2 separate regions of the Homo sapiens genome follow, and region 1 is linked to region 2. The links are contacts of gene promoters, found by promoter capture Hi-C in blood cells and fetal thymus (Javierre and others, 2016). All regions are on one chromosome and are shown on one strand. Each heading gives the region's core, a stretch centred on a gene start or on the middle of the fragment in contact. The rest is flanking DNA. Distances are from core to core; before and after follow the strand shown.

Region 1 (4,510 bases), core at 1,607-4,106, 500 kb after region 2:
AAGGATGGTCTCTTCAATATGCAGCGCTGGGAAAACTGGATATCCACTTGCAAATAAAGATAGACCCTTACCTTACATCATACACAAAAACTAACTCAAAACCGATGCAAGACCCAAACACAGACTTGAAACTGTAAAACCCTTAGAAGAAAACAAAGGGAAAGACTTCACGACATTGGTCTTGGCAATGATTTCTTGAACATGACACCAACAGCAAGGGCAACGAAAGTAAAAATAGACAAATGGGATGACCTCAAACTAAAAAGTTTCTGCACAGCAAAGGAATCTATTAACAGAAATGATATCCTATAGAATGGAAGAGACTATGTGCAAACCATCTATCTCATAAGGGGTTAACAGCCTGAATATACAAAAAACTCCAACTCAGGAACAAAATCGATTAAAAATGGGCAAACTGCACTTTTGTAATCCCAGCTCTTTGGGAGGCTGAGGCACAAGAATCGCTTGAACCTGGAAGGCGGATGTTGCAGTGCACCCTCACCACCGCACTCCAGCCTGGGCAACGGAGTAAGACTCTGTCTCAAAAAAAAAAGGCAAAGCCCTTGAACAGACGTTTCTCCAAACACGCCATGCAAATAGCCAACAAGCACATGAGTAGATGGTCAACATCATTATTTATCAGGGACATGCAAATCAAAACCACATGACACTACCTCATGTCCATTAGGATGACCATTATCACAAACAAAAAAGAATAGGCTGGGCGCGGTGGCTCACACCTGTAATCCCAGCACTTTGGGAGGCCTAGGCAGGTAGATCACTTGAGGCCAGGAGTTTAAGACCAGCCTGGTCAACGGAGTCTCGCTCTGTCATCCAGGCTGGAGTGCAGTAGCATGATCTCAGCTCACTGCAACCTCCGCCTCCCTGGTTCGAGCCATTCTCCTTCCTTGGCCTCCCGAATAGCTGGGATTACAGGTGCCCGTTAATTTTTGTATTTTTAGTAGAGATGGGGTTTCACCATGTTGGCCAGGCTGGTCTCAAACTCCTGACCTCAAGTGATCCGCCCACCTTGGCCTCCCAAAGTGCTGGGATTACAGGCGTGAGCCACCGCGCCCAACCTACACTGTAACATATTTAAAAATCAAAGTGCAAAGGGTGGTTTCTTTCTAAGGATGAAAATTATTATTCACATGCTCCACACCACCATGCAGATCAAGACGCTGACTACCTCTGGCGGCTCAGCAATTCTATCCTGGCACCCCCGGAGACAGCTGTCGCCCAGGTCTTGTGTGCTGCTGTAAGTTATTCCTTCTCACTGCATTCCCCAAATGGACCCACCACAACCTGCTGATCCTTTCTGTTGCTGATGGACATGTAGGCTGTCTCCACTCTGGCCATTTGTATTTCTCCTGGAAACTGCTTATGCCCGTTACCTTTTTCTATGGAAACAGACGGCTGGGACAGAAACCACGGCCACAGCAGCCAGCGTGTCTTTGCCAGTGGGGTCCCACACTATGAAATCGCAGCTGTGGCCTCGGTGGGTGTGTCCTTGGCGGGTGCATCCACACACTTTCTCTCGGAACTTTCCGGACTCTCATGCATATGCTACAGCTTTCCAAACGGCTTGGCCGTGCGGAGTTACGCACCCACCTGCAGCAGGTGATCTCCAGCTGCTCTGCATTCCACCAACACTACGTGACAAGTCTCAAGTTCAGCCGCCTGGGGGCTCGGGCACCCCATTCCTGGGAGAAATGATGATTTGTGCACTCTGGGCCATTGCATGGTGTCTGTTCACGTCCTTTGCCCGTTTTTTAAAAAACTGGGTTGTCAGCCTTTTCCTTCCTGACTTGTAGTTGCTCCTCCATCCTGGAGAGTCCTTTGTTGAAAATACCGCAAATATCTTCTGAAGAGGACTCTCCCAGGGAACATTCACTACAACTGTAACGACCACAGAGACACAGAGCTCCTGTTCACTGTTTAGCCCAGGACTGCGGTGACAGGTGCACCCATGACCCGAGATGCTGGCTGCGTCCTGTGGGGTTTCCTGCATATGGAAGTTTTAAAAGTCTAAAGCCTGGCGGTCCAGGAGGTTGCGTGTGTGTCCTCGGGGAGGAACCCTCCTGACAGCCAGGCCTCTGGAGCTTCGTCTGCACGCGAGCTTGGCATGCACCAGCTGTGCGGCCCAGGCCAGGTGACACGGCCTCTGAAGTCTGGTCTCCTCATCAGCAAAGCCAGTGCCCCATGCCACGCACCTCCCAGGATTAGCCCCAGGCCGGGAGGCTAGAGGCCCCACAAGGAGCGAGCCTGCGACTGCGATCCACAGGCAGAGCCACAGAGGCAGGGCGCGCCCTGGGGCCCAAGCTCCAGGGCTGCAGGCCCAGGGCCAGATCCTGACTTGCCCACCCGCCGGCTGTGTGACCTTCAGCGCGCGACTAACCTCTCTGTGCCTATTTCCTCGAGGAAAATGCCGGGAAATAGCAGCGCCTGCCCCTGTAAAGCCCTCAGAGCAGAGTGGACCGCGCTCTCTGCAAGCGCTGGCTGCTGGCGTCCGTAGCAAGCTAAATCGCGAAGCATCTGAACGAACGAGGAAGCCCAACGACCATCCCACAGGCCGCGGCCAGAGGCAGACTCCGGAATGCAAATGGCCAAACAAGCAGGTCCACCTGCGTTCCTAACCAAAAGATCGCTAACTGAAGAACGGGCGCAAGCACCTGCGCATGGCACTGCGGGTCTGGGGGCGGCCGCCTGCCAGCGCCGGGAGCCGCCTTCCACGGCTACCTCTGCACAGCGCGCGGCTCGCGCCGGTTGCTGGGCAGAAGCTCGAGCAGCTTCGAGGATGTCGGGCCTGGGGGCGGGGCCGCGAGGCAGCGACGTCGCGCGGGGCGCGGCCCTGACGCAGCGTGACGCACCGGCGCCGCGGCGGGTACGGGCTCGGGCGGGCGGGCGGGCGGGACGGCGCCCCCCGCGGCCGGGCCTGGCCGGGCTGCGCTAGGCTGGGCTCGGGCAGGGTCGCAGGGGCGGGGGTGGCAGGGGAGCGGGTGGCAGCCCCGCGGGTCACAGCGCCGCCGCCGCCCATGCTGCTGCCCCTAGCCTGCCTGCACGGCCGCGTCGCTCAGTGCCTGACCTCCTTGCTTTTGCTTGCAGAGCCGCTCCCGAGGCCCCGGCGCGGCGCGAGGGCGCGGGGCGCGGCGTCCACAGGCGCCGAGGCTGCCCCCGCCGCCCCGCCCGCGAAGATGGCGGCGGAACTCTACGCTCCCGCCAGCGCCGCGGCCGCGGACCTAGCCAACAGCAACGCCGGCGCCGCCGTGGGCAGGAAGGCCGGGCCGCGCAGCCCGCCCAGCGCCCCCGCGCCAGCGCCGCCGCCGCCCGCGCCCGCGCCGCCCACACTCGGCAACAACCACCAGGAGAGCCCCGGCTGGCGGTGCTGCCGCCCCACGCTGCGCGAGAGGTGAGCCCGTGCCCCGCGGCCCCCGCGCCCGCGCGCGCCCACGCCCCCAGCCCGTGCCTCTACCTTTGCAGGAACGCGCTCATGTTCAACAACGAGCTCATGGCCGACGTGCACTTCGTCGTGGGGCCCCCGGGGGCGACCAGGACGGTGCCCGCCCACAAGGTGGGTAGCGGCGGCCCCTCTCGGAACGCGTGCCCCGTCCGCCCCGTCCGCCGTGTGGCTGACACGCAGCCTGCGGGAGAGCCAGGCTCACGGCGGCGCTTTCTCCTCCCAGTACGTCTTGGCTGTCGGCAGCTCCGTCTTCTATGCCATGTTCTACGGAGACCTGGCGGAAGTCAAATCTGAAATTCACATTCCAGACGTGGAGCCCGCAGCCTTTCTGATCCTCTTAAAGTAAGTCCACTCTACTGGGGAGGGACGGGTGGGTCCGTTTTAGGCGGCCTCCGGAGGCTTCTGAAGGGAAGCACACAGGAGCTGATGGACTCCTCTCCCAGGCCCAGCCCCGCGATGGGTGCTTGGGAGCCAGCCCCTGACGCGGGCCCTGCCTCGCCTAGGTACATGTACAGTGATGAGATCGATCTGGAAGCCGACACGGTGCTGGCCACTCTGTACGCTGCTAAGAAGTACATCGTCCCAGCATTGGCAAAAGCCTGTGTCAACTTTCTGGAGACAAGTTTGGAAGCCAAGAACGCCTGCGTCCTGCTGTCCCAGAGCCGGCTGTTTGAGGAGCCCGAGCTGACGCAGCGCTGCTGGGAGGTCATTGACGCACAGGCCGAGATGGCCCTACGGTCCGAAGGCTTCTGTGAGATAGACCGGCAGACGCTGGAGATCATTGTCACTCGGGAGGCCCTCAACACCAAAGAGGCGGTGGTCTTCGAGGCCGTCCTGAACTGGGCCGAGGCGGAGTGCAAGAGGCAGGGGCTGCCAATCACCCCACGAAACAAGAGGCATGTTCTGGGGCGAGCCCTCTATCTGGTCCGAATTCCAACCATGACCCTAGAGGAGTTTGCCAACGGCGCTGCCCAGTCAGACATCCTGACTCTGGAGGAGACCCACAGCATCTTCCTGTGGTACACGGCCACCAACAAGCCCCGCCTGGAC
Region 2 (4,750 bases), core at 2,247-4,746:
CAGGAGAGACCTCAAGACGAATTAGAGGAAAACTATGACAATGATTTTGTTTAATGATAATTTTCCTTTTTCCTAGCACTCTGGAAAGCTGCCAGTTTCTTTACAAGTTAACCATCAATCTGATGCAGGGCAGGTGAGCCCCAAAATTGGGGCTTAACCCTGGAGGGTTCATGGCTTCACCCAGGAAGGCATTCAAGGGTGAGCCAGTGGTGTTAGCCAGGCAAGTTTGTTAAAGCAGCAGAATCCTACCCAGCAACCTCTGAGGAACCGGCATGTGGCCTGGGGGACAGCCCCACTCCATAAGCTGCCCGATGTTCTGTATCTGTCCACGATGGTGATGAGACCCTAGGAGAGTTGCAAGTCTGAACACAGGGAAATCTTTAGAAATCCCCACGATCCATAAGATTGAAAACAATCCTCCTCTCTGAGAACTTCATCTATTTCTGGGATAAACCAAATCTGTGTTTAGTCACACGTGACTCCAACTGAGTAACTTTCAAGTCATTTCCCTAAGGCAGAAAAAATTCTCCATTATGCCAGCAAAGTGGCAAGGAAGAGCCAAGAATGCTTGATCCCATCCCCACCACAGGGAACCCTGCACGGCAGGAGGAGAAAGGACATCTAAGCTGGAGACTGGTAAGGTTTCAGCCACCCATGGCTAGGAAAGCATACACTGCCTCTGAGGGGGCGTGGGCAGCTGCAACACGGGAGTCACGTGGGAGGGGTTTGCGGGACTCCAGGCATCACCTCTTCACACCGGAGGCAACACCGATGGAGTCGTGAGAACATAGTCCAGGTGTGTCCAGAATTGGTGGGTTCTTGATCTCACTGACTTTAAGAATGAAGCACTAGGTCCTCACAGTTGACTGTTACAGTTCTTAAAATTGTTATGTCTGCAGTTTGTTCCTTCTGATGTTTGGACGTGTTTGGAGTTTGTTCCTTCTGGCAGACTCACGGTCTTGCTGGCTTCAGGAGTGGAGCTGCAGACCTTCACAAGGAGTGTTACAGCTCTTAAGGCAGTGTGTCTGGAGCTGTTCATTCCTCCCGGTGGGTTTGTGGCTTTGCTGGCCTCAGAAGTGAAGCTACACACCTTCCCAGTGAGTGTTACAGCTCATAAAAAGTGTGGACCCAAAGAGTGAAAGAGCAAAGCCCCAAACATGTGGCAGAACACCAACACGTTCCCACTGCCTGCTCGGGCGGCCTGCTTTTATTCCCTTATCTGGCCCCACCCATATCCTGCTGATTGGTCCATTTTACAGAGGGCTGGTCTGTTTTACAGAAAGCTGATTGGTCCGTCTTGACAGGGCGCTGATTGGTGTGTTTACAATCCCTGAGCTAGACACAGAAGTTCTCCAAGTCCCCACAGAGCACTGATTGGTGCATTTACAAACCTTGAGCTAGATACAGGGTGCTGATTGGTGTCTTTACAAACCTTGAGCTAGACACAGAGTGCTGATTGGTGTATTTACAGTCCCTTAGCTAGACATAAAGGTTCTCCAAGTCCCCACCAGATTAGCTAGATACAGAGTGCTGATTGGTACATTTACAAACCTTGAGCTAAACACAGAGTGCTGACTGGTGCGTCCACAATCCCACAGCTAGACATAAAGGTTCTCCAAATCCCCACCAGATTAGCTGGATACAGAGTGCCCATGGGTGCATCTACAAACCTTGAGCTAGACACAGGGTACCGATTGGTGAGTTTACAAACCTTGAGCTAAACACAGTGCTGATTGGTGTATTTACAATCCCTTAGCTTGACATAAAGGTTCTCCAAGTCGCCGCTAGACTCAGGAGCCCAGCTGGCTTCACCTAGTGGATCCCACACCGGGGCTGCAGGTGGAGCTGCCCGCCAGTCCCGCGCCGTGCGCCCGCACTCCTCAGCCCTTGGGCGGTCGATGGGACCGGGTGCCGCGGAGCAGGGGGCCGCGCAAGAGCCCACGGCAGGGGGGAGACTCAGGCATGGCGGGCTGCAGGTCCTGAGCCCTGCCTCGCGGGGAGGCAGCTGAGGCCCGGTGAGAATTCGAGCGCAGCGCCGGCGGGCCGGCACTGGTGGGGGACCCGGCGCATCCTCCGCAGCTGCTGGCCCGGGTGCTAAGCTCCTCACTGCCTGGGGCCGGTGGCTCCGATTGCGGGGCCCGCCGAGCCCACGCCCACCCGGAACTCACGCTGACCCGCAAGCGCCACGTGCAGCCCGGGTTCCCGCCCGCACCTCTCCCTCCACACCTCCCTGCAAGCTGAGGGAGCCGGCTCCGGCCGCGGCCAGCCCAGAGAGGGGCTCCCACAGTGCAGCGGCGGGCTGAAGGGCCCCTCGAGCGCGGCCAGAGTGGGCGCCGAGAGCGAGCGAGGGCTGCCAGCACGCTGTCATCTCTCACAGGGCGAAGCCCACGCCACAGGACGGGTCGGTTCTGTACCCGCCGGGGCAGGGGAGAGCCGCCTCTGGTGAGCAGAACCCCGGAGAAGGGACGACGCGGGTGCACCTCGCGGCATGGGGACACCAAGTCAGACGAACCCGCTGTGCAAGAACATTTTCCACACAGCGGCGCATACCCCCGCCCGGGGGCGCTCGGCAGCCGCACGCGGCCCTCAGAGCGCAGCCCCCACACGCCTTTACTTCTGGAAGGCGGAGACCGCCACAGTGAGGAGCTAAGCCAGCTGAGGCAACACAGAAAAACCCCCGTTCCTACCCAAAACCAAAAAGCGGGGCGCGGAGGCGCGCGCCTGCGGTCCCAGCTACCGGGGAGGCCGAGAAGGGAGGATCGCCTGAGCCCGGGAGGCGCAAGCTACAGTGAGCCGAGACTGCCACTGCACTCAGTCTGGGTGACAGAGCGAGACCCTGTCTCTAAAGGGGAAAAAAGAGCTAGGAAGAAGCGGGCTGCCTCTTAACTTCGGAGAAGTAAATGAGGAACTATAACCAGTGTCTACCGTTTAGGAACCAAACAAAAGCTGACAGGAATCCCGCCACCGACCCAGCCGCCCCAGACTTTGCCCTGGCCTATCCCGCGCCGCTCCTCAAACTAGACCCGCCCCGACGTCGCCCTGGCCTATCCCACGCCGATCCTCAAACGAGGCCCGCCCCCGATGCACAAGCTCCGCCCTCGTTGCACCGTCCTGACCCTCGGCCTCGCCCCCGCCCCCTGGCTCTTCCCGCGCAGCCGAATGCCGCGACCTGGCTCCCACCCTTCGTCGCTTCGCGCCGCATAGGAACCCCGCCCCTAGTCTCTCCTCCCGCCTATCCTGAGCGGCGCGCGCACAAATCTCTCCCACGGACCCGCCCACCCTGATCCTCAACCTGGCCCCTGGCCTTTCCCGCGGCGTCGAGTCCAGTACACCGACGCACGAGTCCCACCCCCGATCTCTCCCTCGGCCTATCCCGCGCCGCTCCGCGCAGGAGTCCCGCCTCCCACTTCGCCCGCAGCCTATGACGCGCCGCGTCGCTCCCTCTCCTCAAACCCGCTCTCGCCCGCGGATGGGCGCGCAGCTGTGACGTCACGGCGTCGTTGGTAAGGGGCTGGCGGCCGGGGAGCTGCGTAGCTCCCGGCCCCGCGGCCATGCCCAAGCGGAGCTGCCCCTTCGCGGACGTGGCCCCGCTACAGCTCAAGGTCCGCGTGAGCCAGAGGGAGTTGAGCCGCGGCGTGTGCGCCGAGCGCTACTCGCAGGAGGTCTTCGGTGAGTGTCGGGCGGGCTGCCGAGGGTCCGCTGCGTCGGGGCCTGGAACGGGCCGGGCCTCAGCGTCCCCTCTGAGGCCTGAGCGGGGGGCTGGAGGGCCCTGCTTTCTGGCCCCGCGTTCCCGGAAGCTGGGAGGCCGCGGGGACACAAGCTGGCCACGCCCAGGGCTGGGGTCAGTGAGGGGGATGTGAGGACCCCAGCGTTCGCCCACCCTGTCCAACAGCCTGAAAGAAAAGGGTCCCTGCCCCTAGCCCCCGCGCCCTCTTCCACGATCCCGGTTAGTCGCCGCCCTGCAGTGAGCGGCACCCGCCTGGTGCTTTCTCAGGACTGTCCCGTGCAGGATGTCCTGGGAGAGGTTGGGGAGCGGGGCGTCCTGCATGGAGTCAACCCGAAGAGTGCCCCTCCTGTCCCAAGAGGTATTCATGGAGCGCGCGGCCCTGCCAGGCACGGCGGCTTTCTCGGGAGACCAAAGGCAGGCAAGACAGATGTGCCCCGTCTCCCGGGAGCTCCCCAGCCTAGTTGGGGAGACCAGCAGGAGGAGTCGCCACAGGTGGTCGGGGCAGGCACAGGTTTGTGCAGGCGCACCTGCAGGGATGGCACGGAAGGCTTCTTGGAAGAACAGTCTGAGCGGAATCCTGTGGGGGCGAGTAGGAGTTAGCCAGGCAGAGGAAGGGAAGGAAGAGGGCGAGGCAGAAGCCAGGCAGCAGGAGAGCGAAATAGGACTCCGTGTGGCTGCAGTGTCCAGTTCTGGGTGGGATGTGAGGGCAGTGAGCTCCCAGGCCTTCTCTGGCTTTCTCCTGTGGATTTCAGGCGTGTTGATCTTATTGATCATCACTCTGACTGGGGTGATTAATACCCTGGGGCAGGTAAAAAGTGGAGCTTACCTTGCCTAGTGATTGGGACACAAAGTCTGCACCTGTAGAGCAGTTAGAGGATGACCCGGGGTGTGTGATTTACCTGGTGCCGCTTGTGCCTTGGGAATGAGGGAAAGACTCTGCCTCCCGAGGTTCCTCTGTGCGGTGTCTCCAGTGTGCTAGGGCTGTGAAAGCGAGTGCTATTCTGGGCCATGGGGAGGTAAGGG

Evidence for each region. Contacts are between HindIII fragments. The CHiCAGO score rates a contact against its expected background, and 5 or more counts as called.
Region 1: the fragment with the promoter of BTBD6 here is called in contact with the fragment with the promoter of SIVA1 in region 2 in 2 of 17 cell types (erythroblasts and neutrophils); the score reaches 5.8 in erythroblasts.

The regions. Positions count from the first base shown.
Region 1 is chr14:105,245,677-105,250,186 of GRCh38, forward strand. BTBD6 (BTB domain containing 6) reads left to right here and starts at 2,857. Exons shown (of 4, transcript NM_001387567.1): 1 at 2,857-3,409; 2 at 3,481-3,571; 3 at 3,684-3,802; 4 at 3,964-4,510. The coding sequence starts at 3,036. The region is part of intron 5 of BRF1 (BRF1 general transcription factor IIIB subunit); the gene reads right to left. RefSeq lists enhancers at 2,483-3,273, 4,065-4,510 and silencers at 2,649-3,208, 3,409-3,458. The HindIII fragment of the contact is 26,340 bases long and covers 1-4,510 here.
Region 2 is chr14:104,749,651-104,754,400 of GRCh38, forward strand. It overlaps SIVA1 (SIVA1 apoptosis inducing factor), which reads left to right and starts at 3,497. Exons shown (of 4, transcript NM_006427.4): 1 at 3,497-3,669. The coding sequence starts at 3,552. All of the region lies in intron 2 of LOC107987209 (a long non-coding RNA gene), which reads right to left. RefSeq lists enhancers at 2,523-2,612, 3,316-3,817, 3,463-3,512, 3,523-3,592 and a silencer at 2,993-3,362. The HindIII fragment of the contact is 19,431 bases long and covers 1-4,750 here.